Linked DNA regions of Homo sapiens: region 1 is linked to region 2. Evidence: promoter capture Hi-C in human tissues and cell types (Jung and others, 2019). All regions are on one chromosome and are shown on one strand. Each heading gives the region's core, a stretch centred on a gene start or on the middle of the fragment in contact. The rest is flanking DNA. Distances are from core to core; before and after follow the strand shown. Region 1 has its middle 15 kb from the start of PPP2R5C. Region 2 holds the start of ZNF839 (zinc finger protein 839).

What was found. The method cuts DNA at HindIII sites, captures the fragments that hold promoters and counts their contacts. A contact is called where the count stands out against the background at its distance.
Region 1: a contact is called between a fragment that was not itself captured here and the fragment with the promoter of ZNF839 in region 2, in 2 of the 25 tissues and cell types used here (ovary and spleen).

The regions. Positions count from the first base shown.
Region 1 is chr14:101,744,357-101,749,112 of GRCh38, reverse strand. No RefSeq gene overlaps it. Among named protein-coding and RNA genes, the nearest start is that of PPP2R5C, 15 kb to the left of the region's middle. The HindIII fragment of the contact is 7,602 bases long and covers 1-4,756 here.
Region 2 is chr14:102,316,384-102,321,487 of GRCh38, reverse strand. It overlaps ZNF839 (zinc finger protein 839), which reads right to left and starts at 1,742. Exons shown (of 8, transcript NM_018335.6): 1 at 1,435-1,742. The coding sequence starts at 1,722. TRI-AAT5-4 (tRNA-Ile (anticodon AAT) 5-4) reads right to left here and starts at 4,396; the gene lies at 4,323-4,396. RefSeq lists enhancers at 1,123-1,232, 4,607-4,706 and silencers at 1,333-1,522, 1,583-1,682. The HindIII fragment of the contact is 9,233 bases long and covers 1-5,104 here.

The sequences.
Region 1 (4,756 bases), core at 1,910-4,409, 570 kb after region 2:
AAAAATATTAGATGAATGGCTAACTAGAATAAGCAGTGTAGAGAAGACCTTAAATAACCTGATGGAGCTGAAAACCATGGCATGAGAACTACGTGACACATACCTAAGCTTCAATAGCCGATTAGATCAAGTGGAAGAAAGGGTATCACTGATTGAAGATCAAATTAATGAAATAAAGCGAGAGGAGAAGTTTAGAGAAAAAGAGTAAAAAGAAATGAACAGAGCCTCCAAGAAATTTGGGACTATGTGAAAAGACCAAATCTACATTTGATTGGTGTACCTGAAAGTGACAGGGAGAATGGAACCAAGTTGGAAAACACTCTTCAGGATATTATCCAGGAGAACTTCCCCAACCTAGCAAGGCAGGCCAACATTCAAATTCAGGAAATACAGAGAACACCACAAAGATACTCCTCGAGAAGAGCAACCCCAAGACATATAATTGTCAGATTCATCAAGGTTGAAATGAAGGAAAAAATGTTAAGGGCAGCCAGAGAGAAAGATTGGGTTACCCATAAAGGGAAGCACATCAGACTAACAGCGGATCTCTCAGCAGAAACCCTACAAGCCAGAAGACAGTGGGGGCCAATATTCAACATTCTTAAAGGAAAGAATTTTCAACCCAGAATTTCATATCCAGCCAAACTAAGCTTCATAAGTGAAGAAGAAATACAATCCTTTACAGACAAGCAAATGCTGAGAGATTTTGTCACCACCAGGCCTGCCTTACAAGAGCTCCTGAAGGAAGCACTAAACGTGGAAAGGAACAACTGGTACCAGCCACTGCAAAAACATGCCAAATTGTAAAGACCATCGATGCTAGCAAGAAACTGCATCAACTAACGGGCAAAATAACCAGCTAACATCATAATGACAGGATCAAATTCACACATAACAATATTAACCTTAAATGTAAATGGGCTAAATGCCCCAATTAAAATACACAGACTGGCAAATTGGATAAAGAGTCAAGACCCATCAGTGTGCTGTATTCAGGAGAGCCATCTCACGTGCAGAGACACACATAGGCTTAAAATAAAGGGAAGGAGGAAGATCTACCAAGCAAACGGAAAGCAAAAAAAAAAGCAGAGGTTGCAATCCTCGTCTCTGATAAAACAGATTTGAAACCAACAAAGATCAAAAGAGACAAAGAAGGCCATTACATAATAGTAAAGGGATCAATTCAATTCAACAAGAAGAGCTATCCTAAATATATATATGCACCCAATACAGTAGCACTCAGATTCATAAAGCAAGTCCTTAGAGACCTACAAAGAGACTTAGACTCCCACACAATAATAATGGGAGACTTTAACACCCCACTGTCAATATTAGACAGATCAATGAGACAGAAGGTTAACAGCGATATCCAGGACTTGAACTCAGCTCTGCACCAAGCAGACCTAATAGACATCTACAGAACTCTCCCCTCAAATCAACAGAATATACATTTTTCTCAGCACCACATCACAGTTATTCCAAAACTGACCACATAGTTGGAAGTAAAGCACTCCTCAGCAAATGTAAAAGAATAGAAATCACAACAAACTGTTTCTTAGACTACAGTGCAATCAAATTAGAACTCAGGATTAAGAAATTCACTCAAAACCACACAACTACATGGAAACTGAACAACCTGCTCCTGAATGACTACTGGGTAAATAATGAAATGAAGGCAGAAATAAAGATGTTCTTTGAAACCAATGAGAACAAAGACACAATGTACCAGAATCTCTGGGACACATTTAAAGCAGTGTGTAGAGGGAAATTTTTAACACTAAATTCCCACAAGAGAAAGAGGAAAGATCTAAAATCAACACCCTAACATCTCAATTAAAAGAACTAGAGAAGCAAGAGCAAACTTCAAAAGCTAGCAGAAGGCAAGAAATAACTAAGATCAGAGCAGAACTGAAGTAGATAGAGACACAAAAAAACCTTCAAAAAATCAATGAATCCAGGAGCTGGTTTTTTGAAAAGATCAACAAAATTGATAGACCACTAGCAAGACTAATAAAGAAGAAAAGAGAGAAGAATCAAATAGATGCAATACAAAATGATAAAGGGGATATCACCACAGATCCCACAGAAATACAAACTACCATCAGAGAATAAACTAGAAAATCTAGAAGAAATGGATAAATTCCTGGACACATACACCCTCCCAAGACCAAACCAGGAAGAAGTTGAATCTCTGAATAGACCAATAACAGGCTCTGAAATTGAGGCAATAATTAATAGCCTACCAACCAAAAAAAGTCCAGGACCAGATAGATTCACAGCTGAATTCTACCAGAGGTACAAAGAGGAGCTGGTACCATTCCTTCTGAAACGATTCCAATCAATAGAAAAAGAGGGAATCCTCCCTAAATCATTTTATGAGGCCAACATCATCCTGATACCAAAGCCTGGCAGAGACACAACAAAAAAGGCAATTTTAGACCAATATCCCTGATGAACATCGATGTGAAAATTCTCAATAAAATACTGGCAAACTGAATCCAGCAGCACATCAAGAAGCTTATCTACCACGATCAAGTCAGCTTCATCCCTGGGATGCAAGGCTGGTTCAACATATGCAAATCAATATATGCAATCCATCACATAAACAGAACCAATGACAAAAACCACATGATTATCTCAATAGATGCAGAAAAGGCCTTTGACAAAATCCAACAACCATTCATCCTAAAAACTCTCAATAAATTAGGTATTGATGGAATGTATCTCAAAATAATAAGAGCTATTTATGACAAACCCACGGCCAATATCATACTGAACGGGCAAAAACTGGAAGCATTCCCTTTGAAAAGTGGCACAAGACAGGGATGCCCTCTCTCACCACTCCTATTCAACACAGTGTTGGAAGTTCTGGCCAGGACAGTCAGGCAAGAGAAAGAAATAAAGGGTATTCAATTAGGAAAAGAGGAAGTCAAATTGTCCCTGTTTGCAGATGACATGATTGTATATTTAGAAAACCCCACTGTTCTCAGCCCAAAATCTCCTTAAGCTGATAAGCAACTTCAGCAAAGTCTCAGGATACAAAATCAGTGTGCAAAAATCACAAGCATTCCTATACACCATTAACACACAAACAGAGAGCCAAATCATGAGTGAACTCCCATTCACAACTGCTACAAAGAGAATAAAATACCTAGGAATCCAACTTACAAAGGATGTGAAGGACCTCTTCAAGGAGAACTACAAACCACTGCTCAAGGAAATAAAGAGAATACAAACAAATGGAACAACATTCCATGCTCATGGGTTGGAAGAATCAATATCGTGAAAATGGCCATACTGCCCAAAGTAATTTATAGATTCAATGCCATCCCCATCAAGCTACCAATGACTTTCTTCACAGAATTGGAAAAAACTACTTTAAAGTTCATATGGAACCAAAAAAGAGCCTGCATTGCCAAGACAATCCTAAGCCAAAAGAACAAATCTGGAGGCATCACGCTACCTGACTTCAAGCTATACTACAAGGCTACAGTAACCAAAACAGCATGGTACTGGTACTAAAACAGAGAGATAGACCAATGGAACAGAACAGAGGCCTCAGAAATAACACCACACATCTACAACCATCTGATCTTTGACAAACCAACAAAAACAAGAAATGGGGAAAGGATTCCCTATTTAATAAATGGTGCTGGGAAAACTAGCTAGCCATATGTAAAAAGCTGAAACTGGATCCCTTCCTTACACATTATACAAAAATTAATTCAAGATGGATTAAAGACTTAAATGTTATACCTAAAACCATAAAAACCCTAGAAGCAAACCTAGGCAATACCATTCAGGACATAGGCATGTGCAATTTCATGACTAAAACACCAAAAGCAATGGCAACAAAACCAAAATAGACAAATGGGATCTAATTAAACTAAACAGCTTCTGCACAGCAAAAGAAACTACCATCAGAGTGAACAGGCCACCTACAGAATGGGAGAAAATTTTTGCAATCTACCCATTTGACAAAGGGCTCATATCCAGAATCTACAAAGAACTTAAACAAATTTACAAGAAAAAAAACAACCCCATCAAAAAGTGGGCAAAGGATATGAACAGACACTTCTCAAAAGAAGACATTTATGCAGCCAACAGACACATGAAAAAATGTTCATCGTCACTGGTCATCAGACAAATGCAATCAAAACCACAGTGAGACAGCATCTCACACCAGTTAGAATGGCAGTCATTAAAAAGTCAGGAAACAACAGATGCTGGAAAGGATGTGGAGAAATAGGAACGCTTTTACACTGTTGGTGGAGTGTAAACTAGTTCAACCATTGTGGAAGACAGTGTGGCAATTCCTCAAGGAGCTAGAACTAGAAATACCATTTGGCCCAGAGATACTATTACTGGGTATATACCCAAAGGATTATAAATCATGCTACTGTAAAGACACATGCACACGTATGTTTATTGCGGCACTATTCACAATAACGAAAACTTGGAACAACCCAAATGTCCATCAGTGATAGACTGGATTAAGAAAATGGCGCATATACACCATGGAATACTATGCAGCCATAAAAAAGGATGAGTTCGTGTCCTTTGCAGGGACATGGATAAAGCTGGAAACCATCATTCTGAGCAAACTATCACAAGGGCAGAAAACCAAACACTGCATGTTCTCACTCATAGGTGGGAATTGAACAATGAGAACACTTGGACACAGGGTGGGGAACATCACAAACCAGGGCCTGTCGTGGGGTGGAGGGCAGGGGGAGGGATAGCATTAGGAGAAATA
Region 2 (5,104 bases), core at 493-2,992:
CCATCATGCTGCCTAAGCTCGAATAAGTTTGCTTTTGCTTTACGAAAAATATGTCATTTTTGGATTCCAAACCCAAAAAGCTGTGGCCATATTCAGCAGGGTATGGTGAGGAGTACAGGGGCTAGGGAGAGCAGCCACACCTGAGGGACCTTGGGCAAAGCCACGCAACCTCCCTGAGCTTGTTTCCCACCTGCAAAATGCCGGTACAAAAACACTGCTGAAAACTGAGCGGCCCCGCACAGCGCCGGGCGCAGAGCAGAGGCTTTGCAGATAGCTGCCCCCAGATGGCACCTTGCAGCCTTCTGACCCAGACCAAAGTCCAAAAAGGTTGACTTACCCAAGGTCACACCTCTAGATAGTGATAGTGTGGCATCTGGACAGAATCACACTGGTCTTCCTAAACCTTAGCAAGACAACTCTCCAGTCTTGATGATTAACTGGATACAACCCTAAGCAGCTAACATCAGTCAAAAAAACTCAACGAGTGAAGGTTCCTGATTCTATTCCCTAACCCGTTTCTTCTAGTGGAAAAAGCTGTCTTCTTTTGGCAATTTTGGGGTGAGACTAATTTTGTTTACAACCCCAGCGCTGAAATGGGGTGGAATTTTACAGATGCCGTGTAGGCCCTCTGGCTTCAGGCGCTATGCTTCACCCTCCGGAGTTGGGCGACCGTCTTCTAGTTATCACCCCCCTAGCAACCAAAAGGTGTGTGGCCCAGGAAATAAACCCACTGGGAAAGGATGTTTTGTAGTATACAGAGTGCTTTCACATATTCCAAACATTGTGTATCAGGCACTGTGCTGGGTACTGCGGTTACAAATCAGTCACTATCACCCAGGATGTTAAGTCCTGCAGCGAACTAGTGTATTGTGCTTGACTTTGTTCCAAGCCTGGGCCTTGGCACCTTACAACTGAAAAGCTAAGTTGGTTCCTTTTAATTCATTTATGTTTCAGCTCCAGTGTCTGGCCTACGGGACCACCCACTCTAAAGCAGCCCCCGTCAATCCCAGAACCTGCCTTATGTTCGTTCTTCAGCAAGTGTGTTCAAGGCTTCACCTCCTGCACATAGTGGGGAGTGCTGGGAACACGGTCTCTAAGTGCTCCACAAAGGCTGAACCAGCGGTGAAAGGCCTGTAAGAAGAGCTAGGGAGCACGCAAAAGCCCCCAGCAGGGCTGTGAAGGCAGAGAAGGCACGAGGGCGTTCCAGGCACAGGGCCCAGCGTGAGCAACCGCTCCTAGAGTGAGGCTCCTGGGGTGAAAATGCCAGGGTGGTGACAGGTGGGGGCCGAACGCCGTCCCTAAGAAGCTCAGCCTGGGGACGCCCTGAGTCTTAACCCGGGCGGATACTGGCCTCCCCGGACAAGCAGCTACCCCGCCGCGGGGCGTCGGCCCCCTTCGGGCCTCAGTTTCCCCACGTCCCTCCCGACGCCTCACCTGGGGCGGGAGCAGGCGCGGCAGGCGCGGGGGCTCGGTGCCCCGGCCCCGCTGCAGGGCGGCCTGTTGGGCCGCGTCCCGCAGCCGCCGCGCCGCGTCCCGCAGCACGAAGGGGGGCGGCGGCGGCGGCGGCTGCGCCTTCGTCACCTGCTCCAGGACCTGCCGCAGCTGCTCGGGGCCCAGCGGGGCCACACGTGCGACGCTGCCGCTCTGGCCCGGAGGAGCCGGGCCGCCGCCGCCGCCGCCATCCTCGCTGCCGCCCCCAGCCTCCGGCTCCGCATCCGCCATGGCGGCCGAGGCGGGGACTCGAACCCGGGTCGCTGAGCGACGGCGTCTCCAATGTACGTCACCTAGGAGAGGGGCGGGCTACGAGTGCCTCGCAGGCCAAGACACCTAGGAAGGCGACCGTGTCTGGCCGGGAAAGTCGTGGAGTGCCCCGCCCCAGCCGACAACCGCCGCGGCTCTTAGGGCTGATCAGCAGAGCGGACCCCCCTTATTTTCCTTATTGCCTGTCACGGATGTGTTTAAGACTCACCTTCTCTGGGAGCTGTCCCGGATCTCCCAGGGGGAGGTCTTCGGGGTTTCAGAGCCCCTGGCCCAAAAGTTACCACAATATCCAAGTGTTCTGACGTCATCATGCATCCGAATCAGCGGAGGATGCTGTCTGGAGATGCAGAGTACTGTGCCCACCCCTAAACATTTGGATTTATACATCTGGGAGGGGACCACAGTTTGAATTGTTAACGAGAGTGTTTCCCAAATTTTTGCCTTGTCACCGTAGCTTCTCTCTACCCACCCACCCAGATTGGGTGCACCTTGAAGGGAGAGATGATATATTACACAATCGGTGCCCAGCACAGGCCCTGCCCAGAACACAACGCACGCTCAGGGCATGAATGATGGATGGATGAATATGAATAAACGAATGAGTGAACGAATGAATGAACCCACCCTCTCTCTATCCATCCAGCTCCACTGCCCCATCTTCCTCAGCCTGATCGCCTCTCCTTCTTACGGTTGAGGCTCTGTGCGCCCTCCGAATCTTGTAGCTGCAGGTGTGTACACATGTCCCAGCTCCTTTCCCCAGGGAGAGCAGGAGGTCCACTGGTCCACAAACCCTTCTTAAGCACCTGGTGGGTGAACCGCTGTTTCCGCCCTGGGGGGTATACAGTCTAGGTGCCGACCCCCAAGGAGGAAACTTCCCAAGGGGGAAGGAGGAAACTGGCATTTGCAGCACAGTATGATGAGCGCCGAAGCCGGTAAAGTAAGGCTGGCGGCCTGGGTGGCGTCAGAGAAGGTTCTGGAAGATCACCACCATCCTCATCAATACTCACATTGCATTCACGATGATCCCTTCCGTGTTATTTTTTAATGGTGAATTTTATATTATGGGTATCTTACCACAATTTTTTTTTTTTTTTGAGACAAGATCTCACTCTGTCACCCAGGCTGGAGTGCAGTGGCACAATCTCAGCTCACCGCAACCTCCATCGCCTGGGTTCATGCGGTTCTCCTGCCTCAGCCTCTTGAGTAGCTGGGATTACAGGCGTCCGCCACCATGCCTGGCTAATTTTTGTATTTTTAGTAGAGACGGGGTTTCATCATGTTGGTAAGGCTGGTCTTGAAACCCTGACCTTAGGTGATCCGCCCGCCTCGGCCTTCCCAAGTGCTGAGATTACAGGTGTGAGCCACCACACCCGACCAGATTTCAGGAATTCACATGCCTTCTGCTCAAAATAATTTTCATGCCACCGTGGCATATTCTAAACCCCTTCAAGCTCAGGAAACTTGAGGGCAGCAACCTCCACCGATTCCTCCATGCTGTGTCCCTGCATCTAACAACGTGCCTGGCACGACTATTAAAAGATGTGACATCCATCCTGTGTACAGATGTCTATTTTAAGTGTCAGCTGCCCCAGGCTCTCCTAACTTTGCTTATAATAGCAGCAGCGCCATCGGCTGGCATTTATTGAGAACTTTTACTACACCCTGGGCACATACCAAGGTCTGTAGATGTTGAGCTGCTTCTTATTTAGGTCAGAACTAGTAGCTGTTTCCACTGTAGAATTTTCAAAAACAGGTGGAGCCCTTGCCGGATCCTGACATAAAATGGCATCAACCTTATACAACCGGCTTTTGTTCAGCTGAGCACACCTGACCACCCTAGAAACGAACCGAGTGAGAAATTCATCCACTTGCTCTGGCTTCAAAATGTAGAACCAAGAGGAAGAAATGTGAAGCCTAAGATGTCTCCGAAAAGAAAAGAGGGGGGACAAAAAGCAAGAGAAGGTTTCCAGAGGCTTCCACAACCTGAATGCCTCACTAAAAACATGGCAGTCATCTAGTGGCTGGTCACTGTCTCCAGCGGGTTGGGGTTTGTGTCTCACCGTTTTGCTCCCAGCCTAGGAATGGTGCTGGGCATGCAGTAGCTCTCCATATGCATCTGTGGAATGCATTCATTCCAGACCTGGATTTTCACCTCCAAGACTTCCCCGCAAGTGGGCCCAGGGAACACTAGGCGGTGATATCTGCGAGCACCTGTCTTCACTGGGCGGTTCCTCCAGGCCAGACGCAGCCTCAGGAAACGTGGGGGGTGGGGGCGTGGGATGTGCATCGGTTGGATGTCCAGAGTGTCCTTTAAAACGACAAAAGTAAAAGGCCTAACCAATGGCATTCTAAAACAGACCCTTCAGGTGGCGGCGCGGGGACTCGGGGTGAGGAGCCACCGCCCCAGCGCGCTCTGAGTTCCTCCCGCTCTCCCCAGCAGGTAGCCTTGGATAACCTCTGGGCCAGTCCAAAAGATTCCGCAGTTCTCTCCTGCCTGCACGCCGGTTACAGTATCAGAAAGGAACATTGCGGGGACCAAAAAAAAAAAAAAAAAGTTAGCCTGGCCCGTACGGGGATCGAACCCGCGACCTTGGCGTTATTAGCACCACGCTCTAACCAACTGAGCTAACCGGCCGCCTGACGTTGGGCCCCCACGGGAGCGCCTAAGAGGGCTCCAAGCCCGCGCCCGCCCCCTAGCGACTCCCTGCCGGGCCGGCGCCGCTGGCTGCATTCCGCTTCGCCACAGCCGCGACTTCCGACCTCTTCACAGTCATCCCCATTGGCCCGATGCAGAAACTAAGACTTAGGGGACTTCAAGGAGAAGGGAGGCGACTCCCTACAGCGAAGGCGGCTTTTTTTCACAGGAAAAATGCAAATTGCACATGGGAGGCTTAGCTCCGCAGTGAGAAGGTTTTCAAACATGCCAACTCAGTGTTGTTTTTATCTCCGAGAATCCTGCAGCGTGGAAACTTCGTGTAACAGAGGCCTTTAGCATGGTTAAATCAAGCTTGGAAAATACAGAAAACCGGACAAAAGAACCACCGAATTCCCTATCGCCCAATAAACAAGGGCCGCTGGGGTCTTGGCTTCCTTCCTGCTGGTTTTTTTTCCTACAGTACACGTGTATTTATACACACACACACACACACACACACACACGGAATCCAAAGCCTTGTATGAAGCAGTCTTTTTTTTGAGACGGAATCTCCCTCTGTCGCCCAGGCTGGAGTGCAGTGGCGAGATTTCGGCTCAATGAAGCAGTCTATTTTTTATCTTTCTTTTTGCATTTAATATTCTAGAATAAGCATATCCCTAAACAATTGCAAATGTCACTTTAAATGAT